Linked DNA regions of Homo sapiens: region 1 is linked to region 2. Evidence: promoter capture Hi-C in human tissues and cell types (Jung and others, 2019). All regions are on one chromosome and are shown on one strand. The core of a region is centred on a gene start or on the middle of the fragment in contact, and the rest is flanking DNA. Distances in the headings are between cores, read along the strand shown. Region 1 overlaps BCAS3 (BCAS3 microtubule associated cell migration factor). Region 2 holds the start of TBX2 (T-box transcription factor 2).

What was found. The method cuts DNA at HindIII sites, captures the fragments that hold promoters and counts their contacts. A contact is called where the count stands out against the background at its distance.
Region 1: a contact is called between a fragment that was not itself captured here and the fragment with the promoter of TBX2 in region 2, in 2 of the 25 tissues and cell types used here (H1 embryonic stem cells and mesendoderm cells).

Annotation. Positions count from the first base shown.
Region 1 is chr17:61,097,973-61,104,361 of GRCh38, reverse strand. All of the region lies in intron 22 of BCAS3 (BCAS3 microtubule associated cell migration factor), which reads right to left. All of the region lies in intron 2 of BCAS3-AS1 (BCAS3 antisense RNA 1), which reads left to right. It overlaps LOC124904041 (a long non-coding RNA gene), which reads right to left. Exons shown (of 2, transcript XR_007065871.1): 1 at 1-6,389. Among named protein-coding and RNA genes, the nearest start is that of BCAS3-AS1, 35 kb to the left of the region's middle. The HindIII fragment of the contact is 4,958 bases long and covers 1,585-6,389 here.
Region 2 is chr17:61,396,025-61,403,464 of GRCh38, reverse strand. It overlaps TBX2 (T-box transcription factor 2), which reads right to left and starts at 3,622. Exons shown (of 7, transcript NM_005994.4): 1 at 2,894-3,622; 2 at 1,514-1,781; 3 at 258-404. The coding sequence starts at 3,288. TBX2-AS1 (TBX2 antisense RNA 1) reads left to right here and starts at 3,859. Exons shown (of 2, transcript NR_125751.1): 1 at 3,859-4,226. RefSeq lists a cis regulatory region at 3,538-3,549, promoters at 3,538-3,785, 3,405-4,665 and an enhancer at 5,786-6,337. The HindIII fragment of the contact is 8,441 bases long and covers 1-5,234 here.

The DNA of each region.
Region 1 (6,389 bases), core at 2,814-5,313, 300 kb after region 2:
AGTTATATGAAAAACTTTTTTTAAAAAGTTTTTAAAAAATAAAAGCAGAAAAATATGTCTTAGCTACTCCTTGGTCAAGGTCTCGCCTCCTAAAAGACTGGAATAAAACTCTCAGCATCTTTGCTGACATGAGTCTGTGGGTGGGGAGGTGGAATGGGAGAGAGGACATCAAGCCCACCCAACTCCTGGAATTTTTACAGAAAAGACAAAACTTTCCAAGTGAAATAGTCATTTTGGTAAATGAAACCATTTGTAACTTTAGAAAAGTTTTTTCTTTTATTCCAACGTATCATAAGAAAAATCCACACTGTGCTTCTAATAGGCTATAAAGCTTTGGTTTAAAGATGGGTCAACAAGAGCTAAAACCACTAATGTCATACTTGGAGAAGCAAGAGTGGAGAATAGTGACATCCCAACACTTCCAGGATCCCAATGAAAAGTCTCACCCAGGCGAAAGACTATCTGCCAAATTTATGCCAAGAACAAAGTTTTATAGCCAAGTTAAAATCTTTTGTGTATTTAGGGACTGTTATAAAAATAGTAACATTTTCTGCATCCTTGAGAGAGCCTTTTCCTTATAGAGATGAAACAGGATTATCAAAATAGGAAGATAGTTGCTGTGAGGGAGCAATAGAAACAGGACAAACTGAAACAGAGACAGAAAAAAGAACATGAAAGACAAAGACAGAGTAAGATGGAGTGAAAAACACACATAAACAGTCTGACATGCTCAGGAGAGTGATCTGTTCCTCTGCAAACCAAATAGCTTCATTTCTTTGCCTTTTTAGGCTGAGTAAAATGTATTTGCATGTAAAAACAAATATAACTAAAGTTAAATCCATTTGGGCAGCAGTATTTTGAGGTTCTTTTTTAAGAAGAGGAGACTTAGGGAGTTAATTTCATTCCTTAGTCCCCACCAAAAACCTCCATGAACTGGTTAATTTCAGGTCAGTAGGAGTTCCTGGAGTTAGAGTAAAAATGTCAACATATTCCTTACTAAAGCCACAGTGATGAATACTTTTCCCTTAAACGATTCTCAGAGCTGCCTCAGACTACTGCAAATGTATCCAAATGACAGAGGATCACAGATTTTAGAATCAGAAGGGTGTTTGAGCATTTAATATACAAATTTATTACAAGAGTAATAAGGAGATACACTGTTATACCAGCATAATCTAAGAAGGGAAGAACTGAATGGTAGGGATGCGGGTACAAGAGAATAATTTCTGGGATTTAGATTCTTGTCTGAAATATCAGAATATAATCTGTTATTGGAATATATCTTCATACCAAAGCACATTATAGCTAAAAACACAGGCTCTGGAATCAGACTGCTATAGGGATTCAACCAGGAATCTACAACATTTCAGTCTGTTTTCTCAACTGTAAAATGGGGACAATAGTATAACCTATCTTCTTAGGATGCTCATAATACATTATGATACACGTGAAGAGCAAAACTAAAACTTTGGGACAGACAGAAAGGAAATATTTTACGGAAAGAAGGTAAGGTGGTGACAACTGACATTTAATGAGTCCTTGTTATGTACCTGAACTATGGCCAGAAGATTTTTATTATCTATTAATTTTTACAACATCAGAGACAGATGTTCCTATACTCTTCTTATGGACAAAGAAACTCAAGGTCATGTACCCAGTCAGCTACAGAAATGGGAATGAAATCTACACCTAACCACAAAGCTCATGCACTTGCATTACACACGTCTATTCAAAAAATTTATCAAAAATGGACTTTAACAACAAGCTATGTAAAACATGTTCATGACAAAAAAATTCAGATGACACTGCCAAAGTTGGGAGGTAGTATACAGTACTTAATTTCTCTAAATCACACCTTCTTCTGAAAAAAATGGAAATTGTAACAGTGCTTTTACCTCATAATATTTTGTGAATACAGGTGATAATGCACGTGAAATGCTTAGCATAGTGTATTCAGTAACCAAATGTTACCTAAAACCACTGATAGTTCATTATATATCATTTAATATGCATACAGGAGAGAAACTCTATGAGCTGCATATAATTCAAGATTTAAAAACAGATGTTAAGAATCCTATTTAACTTTTAATTCCATAATTTTTCAAGAATAAACCTCTCCAAATAGGTTTCTTTCATGAAAACAGATGCATACAATTCAAAATTATATCAGCTTACGTTAATTTTCATGATCACAACCTCAAAATAATTTTGTCTCAGCTAAGGACATCTACTAATTTGCATATAGCTATTTTTGTGAATGTTAATAGTATTGCATTCAGGAGGTTCCTTAGTAATTCCTTATTTTTATTCTTGAGACCATATATGCTAAAGTAAACTACAGTGAAAATTACACCATCCATAGAAGGAACTGATAAAGGTATCATCCCACAGCCTTTCAATTTATTAGTATTTTTATCATATCAACTAACTAGAAGGCAAAACCTAGTCACCGTTTTGCAGATGGATAAACAGAGGCCAAAAATGGGCCAGTTAAAGGTACTGCAGTCCCCATGCATTAATGGGTATACTTTCATATCTGCACTTCCTTAAATTTATTAAAAAGCCAAATATTATTCTGAAATCAAGGTAGGGAGGTAATTCTGAATACATCACACAAAACAAACCAGAATTTTAAAATGTGAAAACACAAGTCAAGAGGATGAGAGCTGAACAACTCTTAAAAGTTTGAAAGTGGCTAAGAGCTCTTAGATCTTTATAGTAATAAATATTGTAGTGTACAATGGTCCATTGGGAATCCTCACTCATATGTTATTCCATGATTGAAGATCAAGGTGTCAGGTCCATTTAGAATCAGTGTATTTTGGGTATGTTTTAAGCTTTAATCCATATTTTGAAAAAATAGTTAACAATATTTCTAAGGGAAATATAATCACTTTGCTTGCCTTGCACTCCCCCACTCCCCACTATAGAGTGAATTGTGAGTTTCAAACACTGGTATTCCTTTAGTTTGAATTTTCCCATAAGTAGACGGAAAGGTAATGACCTTGGCCTATCACGATTCTTAAGTGGAAAGCCTTTTTCAGCTTAAGAAACCACTACCTGATTGAGAGTGGCTTTCCTAGCTGAAAATAACTGTTTACTGCTTAAAGGATAAGTATCTGTGAGATGCAGGTATAGTTAGGTGAGTCTTGAATATAACATTCTTCCATCATCAAAATCTCATCGGAGAGGTTTTGCCAATGGTCTTTTAAAATAGAGGTGCCATTCCAGAGTGGAGGTGATGTATTTTGTGTCCTCTATGATACAACAGTATATGATAAAAAGAATAAATATAAATAGTTCTTAGGTCACATACATGCCCTGATGATTATATGAATGAAATCAAGGTTGGCTGAGATGCTGTTCAAGGTCCGGGAAAAAATGAAGGTTTCACAGATTCACACCTTTGCTCTACCATCTACTAGCTCTGTGACAGTAGACAAGTTATTTAAATCTCTTAACCTCAGCATCTTCAACTGTTGAAAACAAAAAATCTAAAAAGTATGTTGTTAAAAACAGAGTTTAATTTATGTTTGCATGGATAATGCAGGGCCGTGTTGTAAAGGACTCTAGTGGAAAGATGGTCTCCTTGTCACTTCTGCTCCCTAGCCACACAGTTTCTCTTTGAGGAGGTAATTACTGTTCCAGGCAAATGCAAGAACTTGGTTTCAATGTTCCATGATGAAATATTGAATTCATTAACATTTGCTGAGTGCCTATTATGTGTCAAAACCATTCAGGGAGCTACGGGGAGTACAAAGATGAGCTCATAGTCTAGAATGAAAAACAATACCCAACTAATTTTAATATCAGATGGTACACATAACAGTAAAAGTTTAAGAACACATGAGAAAGTAATTAATTTAATCAAGGGGGTGAGTTGGAATAAAGAGAAAGATTAAGAACATGTTTCAAGAGAAATGAAAAGTGTCAGGCACCATAGTAAGTTCTCTCTGGCTTAAGCCGTCTGATTCAGGAACTGGGTCCCTCTCATGGCTATAAAAACTCTAATTTGAGGTACTGACTCATGGCTATGAATTTCTAACATAGGAAAAGGAAAAGGTAGCCCAAATAGAAGATCATAGGGTTCGCTATTTCCTCTTTAGGTAGAGAGAAACAGAAGAGTAAATGGGTTCTGTTCCCAGTCTTACAAGCATTCATTTGAGAACTACATAAACTCATCTAAAGAAGGGATAACTGACTGGGGAGTTCAACTAAGTGTCAAGTGTAACTTAGTGTTCTCTACAGTCTTAACATTGAACATTTATATAATAACTGTTGCCTTTCCAAATATTGTAGAACACCAAAGTAAAATAGGTTTAAGACTCAAGACGCCACTTCATACAACAGAAGTCAATTCTACCATGTTTCTTGTAGCTGTCTAGAGCATAAGTACAAGTAACTAAACTGTAATGACACCACTAAAATTTTGGAAATTCTTCAACAAAATGTTTTGGCTTAATGGAACTTAGGGTCAGTTCTCCATATGCCAATGTCCTATGCCCAAAATGGGCTAGCTTCAAAGGCAGCCCAAAATATCCCTAAAATTATGTCTGAAAGTTAGCCTAGTAAGAGCAGAAAGCAAAAGCCTGTCCATTCTTTTCAACAGATGTTTACCAGTCCTGACCATAGATTCCAGAAAGCAAGACTTCGCTAGAGTTAATGCTTTATAAAGATAACCTTAAAACAAAAATTTCCATGCTAAGCCTAATAGAACGAAAGCTTGTATCAAAGAAATATTCTGTTTAAACATAATGCTGCTTTAAAAGCATAACATAAAAGATAATTTGAAATGCTTTGTAAAATATTTCACTTGATTACACAATTGACCATAGGCCCATACAAAGGAATAGTGATCATAACATAAGGGCAAACCTAACTGAGGACCAGGTTTAAGTCAGGTAACGAAGATAAAGACTCAGCATTACCAACTTGTAATCATGTTATGATATTTAAAGCCTTATGTTTTATAAGAAATCAACAATGGTTATCATTGTTGATTATCACTGACTATCATTATTAATCATCACTGACTATCATTATTAATCAGATATCAAGAAATATTGATTATCTGCTCTGTGGAAGGTACCAATACCAGGCAAAGGGAGATACAAAGACAGCCCTTGTTCTCAAACAGTCCTTTATTATAAGCCATCATTTTTCCCCCTCTGTTCTAAGCATGCTACATATAAGGTAATCCAATAATAATGCCATCCAGGAGTATCTTTTATTTTTTTTGAGACAGAGTCTCACTCTGTCACCCAGGCTGGAGTGCAATGGTGCGATCTCAGCTCACTGTGAGCTCCGCCTCCCAGGTTCATGACATTCTCCTGCCTCAGCCTCCTGAGTAGCTGGGACTACAGGTGTGCGCCACCATGCCCGGCTAATTTTTCGTATTTTTAGTAGAGATGGGGTTTCACCGTGTTAGCCAGGATGATCTCGATCTCCTGACCTGGTGATCACCTGCCTCGGCCTCCCAAAGTGCTGGTATTACAGGTGTGAGCCACCACACCCAGCCCATCCAGGGGTATCTTAAGCCAAGCAGTAACAGAACAATCAGGATCCACACCTACTGTTAAGGTGTTTCATGCTTCCACTTTTACCGTTTTCATTTGGCAAAGAAATCCTGATCACAACAACGTAAAAACATTTAGAGACTTAAGAATTGCTATCAGTATCATCTCCTTCTACTCACTCTTGTCCATGGATCATGGATGCCATAAAATCTGCTAACCGAATTCCTTTTTGCAGCATACCACTTAATTGCAGGAAAAGCTCAAACTCAAATGTGTTATTATTTAAAGCCAAGCCTCACTTCAAATTGAGGTATTTGGGTTTAGAAAAATTCCTCCCCAGAATTCTACTCTGGTATTAGAAAAATCACAATTACAAGCCACAGAATATTAAAGTCACAACTTTGGCAAAATATCAGGATCACTTCAGAGGTAAGATTAGAACTTCAGCACCCAAAACCAAAAATACAATGTTCTAATCCTATAATATCACTCTCTTCTGTGATTATGAAGGCCTCTTAAATACTAAGAACAGAAAGGGGGACAAAGACTCTATTTTTCTCCTCTCCATGCACAACTCAGTCCCAATGTTCTGAATATATGAATATTCTGTAACAACAAGCTACCTTCAAAATGTCCAAGTAATTACAGGTTCAGGTCAAGAACTCTAGACCATATTGATTACCTCTCTATGCAAGAAGGACCCTCCAGCACCATTTATATCCATGATAACAGAGACAGCTTTTAAGGATCTGTGACATTAAGAATTTTCAGTCATATCAATGCCAGGAATGGAAAGCCAATGACCAGTCAGGCCTGTCAGTTGTTGCCTAAAGCAATAAGGACAAGCTGGGAATTCATCACACTGGAACTTCA
Region 2 (7,440 bases), core at 2,373-4,872:
ACATCTCCATCAGAACGACGGCCCAGCTGTTCGCTCGCCCCAGGGGAGCCTGTGTGTGCGCGCGGTGGGATTGAGAGGGCGCCTTGAGGACTTCCGTGAGTGCTGCGCGTATGGATGCGAGGCTCGGTGCTCGGGGGCGGGCCGCAAGAGCGCGGATCCCGTGCAGGGGGCTTCGAGGGGCGATGAACGGACGGTTGGGCCTGCACGTGTTGAGGGGCGTCAGTGCAGGGGCTTAGCCCACCGCCCGCCGCGCGCACCTTGTCATTCTGGTAGGCAGTGACGGCGATGAAGTCGGTCTCCGGGAACACGTAGGTGCGGAAGGTGCTGTAAGGCAGCTTCAGGATGTCGTTGGCTCGCACTATGTGGAAGCGCGGCTGGTACTTGTGCATGGAGTTTAGGATGGTCTGCGGGGAGGGTGGGGGTCAGCCGGCAGCCACCAGCCCCGGCCCGAGCTTTTCTATTCTTTGGGTACCTGACCTCTTCCTCTCCACTTTCTCTCTCTCTCTCTCTCTCTCTCTCTCTCTCTCTCTCTCTATCGGTTCTTCCTCTTCCCCATTTTCTCCTGTCTCTGCTCTTTTCTCACCCTTATTTCTTTTTCTTCTACTTTTCCTCTCGCTTTTCTCTTTTCACAGCTTCTTTTTCTCTTGCCATTAAAAAAAATTTCCCAGTTGGAAACAGAAATGAGACAGAGCAAAAACAAAACAAAACAAAAAACAAAACAAAAAAACCAACCAAAAAACAACCCCTCCCCACAAAAGAAACCCAAACAAAATAAAACAAAACAGAGCCCTACAATTCCACTCTTAACACTCTCTTCCTTTCTGGCACTGGTAAACCCCCTAACCCCACAAAGAGGAGATTCCAACCTTCGGGGGCTCACCAACTGCCCTACCTCAGAATGGGCAGTTCCTTTTACCCTATGAAACACCACCCCCGTTCGCTGGGGCCTTGCTCAGGCATAAATGGAGAGAACCCCCAAACCCTCTCCTCCTAGTTGGGCATCTGCCTGTGGGAGGAGGGAAAGGTCTTAGGGAGGCTGGGGGGGTGGGTGGGGAGGGTGGTTTAACTTTTAAATCCCCTAGTCTTGGGGGAGGGCCAGGGACGCGGGTCTTGGCAGAAGGGTGATGGACAAGTTGAGGTCATGGGCAGGTCTTCCAAGCTCGGCACCTACAGGCCAAGAGCAGGGTGACCTCCGTGGTCCAGCACTGCAGACCCAGTCCTGGCAGCACCTGCCTCCCTATTGACGGTACAAGGGACCCTCCACGGCCTGAGGAACTGAGATTGTGAGCTGCCAGCCACTGACCCCACCATTTCCCAGGCTTGCAAAGGAGAGCGCTGGGGCCCAGGCCCAGGCCCAGCCCACGTAGACCACAGGGCAGTGACCCGGGCAGGGGCACTCTGGGGGTTTGCCCAGCGCTTCCCCCTGGGAGATCCTGCCGCCCTGCTCTCCTGCTCAGCTGCAGTGCTGGGTCAACAAGCTCCTGCACCGTCCCCACCCTGCCCCAACACTCACGAAGCCGTGCTTGTCAGAGATGTTGTTGGTCAGCTTCAGCTTGTGGAAGGCCACAGGCTTAGCCATCCACTGCTCCCCCGTGGCTGGGCTGTCTGGGTGGATGTACATGCGTTTGGGCATCTCAGGGTCGGCCTTGCCCGCCACCATCCAGCGCGAGTTGTGGAACTTATAGCGGCAATCGTCAGCGGCTACAATGTCCATCAGCAGGATATACTTGGCCTTCTTGTCCAGGCCGCTGACTCGCACCTTGAAGGGGGGGAACATCCGCCTGGGAGGGAGGGAAGGGAGGAGATCCCATTGGAACCGGCTGTTCTAGGTTCCAGGACCCCACTCCTCCTTTATTTATCCCTCCTCGTTGCGCACACCGCTGCCGCCTGGCTGTTTCCCCTGTGGTCGGCTGCTCTGCCCTCTCATCACTGCCCGGACGACCCCACCTGTGGTTGTTGCTCCCAGGAGATCCCATTTCTGCCTGTCAGACCCTCTCCTAAACAGCCTCCTTTAGGCCTTGTGCTCAGATCTGGGGACCCTCTTTCTCCCTGATCTGAGATGAAAGCTGATGCCCAGGAGAGAAGTCTAGGCCCTCTAGAAATATTCTCGCTTCTCCTTAATCTCCCCGAAATTCGTTCAGGGGAAATACCCACTTGGGACGGAAGCTCCCAGAAATAAATCTGGAGGGTGTTTGTATTGGGAACTGGGCTACAGAGCCTGATAAGACATCCTGGCCGTGCAGTTCGGGGGAAGAGGGTGAACCCGAGGCCTGGATTCTCGGTGGCTGAGTCGAAGGGTGGAGGGGCCGGGGCTGTGGCTTTCTTCAGGCTTTAAGGCCTGGGGCGGCGGATGCGTCCAGGGCTCGGATGCCCGCGGTGGAGAAAGGGCTCCCAGCCCGGTGAGGCGGAGGGCTCGGCTGACCCGGGGCTCGCTGCCAGGAACCGAGCAACCAGCGTGGGGTTAGCTGGGCCCAGGTCCCACTAGGGGCTTCGGGGTCGGAGCAGAGTCTGAGAGAGGCTGAATTTCCCCCGAGCTCGGAGACGGACCCGGACGCAGAAGAGCGAGAGCGCGGGGCGGAGGAGACCGCCAGGGCCAAGCCGCGGGGCCTCCTCTGCGCTGGGACTCAGAACGGTTGGGGCTATTCTTTAGCAGTATGTTTTCGTTTTATTTCATTCGGAGGATTTTAGCGTTTTTGTTTTAAAAAAAAATCGCTCCGGTGCCAAACGAGAAAAGTCAACTTGGTTGTCCGTGGGAGCGAAGCGTGGCGTCAGGGCCAGAACCTGGAGCCGGGAGCCGGGAGCCGGGAGTCCCCAGCTCTGCTCTGATCCGTGCAGTCCCGTGCCCCAGCCCGCCCGCCCGCCCGCGCGCCTTCCAGCCGGCCGGCAGCCCTACCTCCCGGACTTGGTGATGACCATCTCCGTGCCTAGCTTGTGGAACTGGTCCCACAGCTCCTTGGCCTCCAGCGTCACCTTGGGGTCGTCCTCCACCTCGTCCTCGGGCTCCAGGCTCTTGAGGGAGCGCAGATGCGCGGCGGGCGGGTGCGGGCCCAGTGCCGAGACGTGCAGCCCCGCCTCGGCCGCTGCTGCCGCCGCCGCCGCCGCGGCCGCCGCCCCCGCCAGGCCCGGGTCGGGCAGCGGCTTGGCCAGCGCGCCGGGCGGCAGCGCGAGTGCCGGGAAGAAGGAGGGCTGCGCCGCCGCCAGAAAGGCGGACATGGGGAAGTCGGCGGGCCGTGGCGCGTGGAACGGGTGGTAAGCCATGGCGCTGGCCGCCAGCGCCGGCTCTCTCATCGGGACATCCGGCCCAGGCGCCCGGGGGCCGGGGCCGGGGCCGGGGGCGCGCGGCTCGGACCCCCGGCCCGGGCGGCGGCGCGCGCGGTGGACGGACGACCCGGGTGGCGGGCGCAGCAGCTGCTCCTCGGGGCTTCCCGTCCGGCGCACCGCAAGGGGCACCCGGCTCTGTGCGCGGGGGCGGCGGGGGCTCTGCGCGGGGCCGGGCTGGGCCGGGCTGAGCTGGCCCGCTCCGGCGCCGGGGACCACGCGCGACTGGTTAGATCTTGTCGTGATCTCTGGAAAACTGTGACTATCTCACATGTCCTGCCCAGCTCGGATCCCCTGCGCTAACGAGCCAGGCCCCCCTTGATTGCTGATTTTACGCTTTTTGGACCAATTGTGGGTCTCCGGGGGCGGGGTTTTGACAGCTCAGGCCAAGCTCCGGCCGGGAGGGGGGGCCTGGGAGAAGGTGTCGGAAGCCTCAGCAGTAAGAAAACATGTCAACAGAATAAAATATTAACCAATGACGGGCCGCCGGGCCCCGAGACCCCTCCTCCTGCCCCGGCCCCCACCGCCCGCCCGCGCCTGCGGCTGCCTGCGCCGGACTGGAGAGCGCGGAGGGCCGACCTGACCCGCCGAAAGGGCCTGAGGCGAGGGGAGCCCGGGTCCCGGGGCCTTGGGGAAGGACCCGCAGCCGCACGCCGGCCCCAAGTGCAAAGCATTGACACGACCCCGAGCGGAGAGGGGGCGCCCTCCTTCTCCCGCGCCCAGAGGCCCGGCCGCTCTGGCCCGAGCCCCAGCCTGGCCTCCGACCCAGCTCCGGGTCGTGGCGCCGCCTGGGGGTCCCTGCGCCCCGGAAAGAGACAGCAGGCACTGGAAAGCGAGGCCGGTGGGCGGGCGAGTCGGGAGGCTCGGGCGGCCGAGGTCCGGGAGCGGATCCCAGGTGGCGGGAGCTGGTGAGTGGAGCCATGGCCGAGCCCTGCTGGGGCCGGCGCGGGCGGGAGCGGGACGCGGCCTTGCGCTGGGGAAACGCGGGGACCCCCTACCCGCGCCCGCCTTCACCGGAAGACTCGGAAGGAACCTGGAGTTCTCCGCAGGCCCGGGCCCCGCCCTGAGCTTTCCAGCGGCCGGGAGGAGCGGATCCTCGGGGCCAGGAAGGTGAGCGCACCTTTCGCTGAGCACAGGGCGGCACCGCGCGGGCGGACCCCGGATTCTCCACCCGCGACCCAACGAATTTTCGCCCTATCCGGTACCGGAGACGAAAGTCTCCTTCTTCCGAAATACCGGCTTCCTCTCTTCGCCCTGCCAACCACTTTTTTAGTTTCTTCTCATCTCTCGGAAGCGCACGTCTCCTAAGTTAAGGAGTGCTGAGTAACGCGTGAGGGAGTTGGGGTGTCTGCGAGCACCTGTGATTGAAGCCCCCTCTTCTGTGATCAGTCTTCGTTTTCTGTCTTCCGGCAGCCTCAGTTTCCCCCCCATGAAGTGATGGTGTGTGTGTGTGTGTGTGTGTGTGTGTGTGTGTGTGTGTGTGTGTCGGGCCCCGTGTGGTGCCCTCTGTGCGCAGCGAGAGCTATAACTCAAGGTGTGCACGGGGAGAGTGAAGCGACCACGCACCTGCTTCCAATCGGGCTCGGGCGCGAACACTCAGGCTGATTCCTGAAGGTCGTTTTCTGAAGGAAAAGACAGAGCATGCACTAGCCACGGGTGACATTCCCACCCGTACAACCGCGTGGTGGGCGCGTACATCCAACATTGACCCATGCAGGCGCCCGCCCACTGCGCACACCGGTCGCAGGGCACTTCGTTGTTGAACGTTGGGAGCAGCGTTTGAAGGCCGGATCTCTCCTGGCAGTGCGGATTCGGGACCGGCGGAAGCAGTATGGCCTCTGCGACCGTTATCCCTACTTTTCGGGGCCGACCCCAGGGCCCTCACAACTCCTCATCACCGCATATGTGAGCGCCGCCCCCACAGGGTTTTCTCCACGACCTCGTTCTTGGCTAGGTCGCACCTCTCTTAGTACCTCCTCTCTGGCCAGAACGAATCTTTGACTCCGAGCTGCGCAGTCTACGCAGACGGGGCAGGATCCACTGCAGTTTTCCACAGGCAAATACCTGCTGGCTCCACCTTAGGCGAGATGTGGCCTCTCGGGGAGGGACCCGTTGTGGACACGTTTGCGCAGCCGGTGAGGTGACCAGATAATAACCAGGGCAGCTTTCCTTAGCCGGGAACCCAGGTACCGGCCTAGGAATCCGTGAATACATTCGCAAAGTCGCGCGCGCGCGCGCGCGCGTGTGTGTGTGTGTGTGTGTGTGTGTGTGTGTAGACACATACTTTTGTCCTTGTAAGAGTATGTGTACATCTAAATGTGTGCGTTTTAGACATTAGTCCATTTCATTAGTCCATCCATAGCTGGTCCAGGGGTCCGAGGCCTGAAGAGTTTGAAACACTCAGGCCTGGGTTATTTGACCGAGAAACCTGGCGGCGACAGTGCAGCGGCTGCATCTGGGGACGGCGACCCCACCTACAGTGGCACCGACCTTCCCTCTGGCTTTCCGGGGCTCTGTCCGGGCCAGGATCCCACCACTCGCCCCGCCCCGCGGTCCCGCGATCACCCTGAGGTCCTGCTGCAGCCGCTCTGAAGAGTCTGTAGCGACCCCCAGCCAAACTCTCCAGCTAGGAATGCCCGAGGCTCACCGAAAGCTGGCGCTGGGGAGGCCTGGGAGGCCCTGGAGCGGCGCCGTGAGGCCTCCGCTGGGCCCCTCCCCCACCTAGGCCGGCCCCCTCCCCCTTCCCAGGAACCCCCTCCCCTGGCGGAGCCCCGGGGGCCGAGTGTGCGTGTTCCTTTAAGAGGCCCCGGGGGGCGCCTCGCGGGCCGCCCGGGGCTGGAGGGGGAGGGCGCGGGCGGGGGCGGCTGGCGCCAGGCGGCCGAGGCTCCACAACAAAGCTCCGGCCCCTGTCACTTCGCATCGGCCAGGTCCCGCAGACAGGCGGGGGACGCGCGCTCGGCCGCCCCTCCCTCTCGCAGGCGGTCTCCGGCCAGGGCGTCGGGCGGGCTTGGGCTGGTGGCGCGCGGTCTGTGCGCCCCGCGCTTCCCGCAACAGTGAAATGGGGCGGGAGCGGGGACGGCCTGGGCCGGGTGGGGCCGCGGTCCTGAGCCTGGCGTGGCTGCCCTTCCGTCCTCCGGCCCCGTCACCTCTCGCAGGGTTAAGGGGCACTGCTGGGACCTTCCCCGGGTTGAGCCTCCAGGTGGCAGGGGGTCCCCGCCGCTTCCTCCTCTGTGTGCAGGGCCGGGGTTGCGTGACCCCGCGGGCAGTGGGCAGCAGGAAGCTCGGGCTGTGCGGCCGCGTGGCAGAGCGGACGACGGACTTGCGTCCGAGTGACGGGGCGCGGGCTGCAGACTGGCTTAAGCCCTCGGTGGCAGACGAATGTGCCCAGGCTAAGCTCAGGGGACGTGTGTGGCCCCGTGCTATGGGCCCGCTGTGAGGGTGCCGCCAGGCCGTCGATCACTGCCTGGACGTGAGGAGTGTGGTGGTGAAGGACACTCCCTGGACAGAGTCGCTTCCCATCACGGCTTCCCCGCCGGACCGCACCTCCCGGAGCCCTGGCGCCAGCCAGCCCGGTTTAGCGGCCGGACCGGGCTCCCCCGCGGTCCCAGGTCTGGTTGGGGTGGGGGCCGCGGCCTCGGTGACCCCAGCCCGCAGCGGCCCGGCCCGTCCCGTCCACTTAAACAAATTGCCGCTGACAGGCGCGCAGTCTCTCTGGAGCCGCCGCCCTCCCGTCGCCTCCCTCCCGTCCCAATTATCCCGCGCAGGGTGGGGCCAACTGGCTGGGATGGGGCGGGGGACGCGGGGAGAGCGGGCGGCTCGACTCCCTCCTGGTCGCGGGGTGGCCCGGGGAAGCGTCTCCGCAGCCACGGCCTGTGTGGCCCCGTCCCTGGTCTTCCCGGGGGATGCGAGGGCAAGGCCCAGCCTGGCAGCTGTGGGCCCTGGAAGGGCGTCGTTCTGCACCTAAGGGCGAGATCACGCGGCCGAGAACCAAGGCCGCATCCCGGATGGACTTCGGGTGACTTTCCCGGAGTTCTGGGGAATCCCCTAACCCGGGGAGCTGCAGACGACTCACTGGCCCCGGGCCGCGGTTCCGCGGGTGGCCGCTGTACGCTTGAGACACCT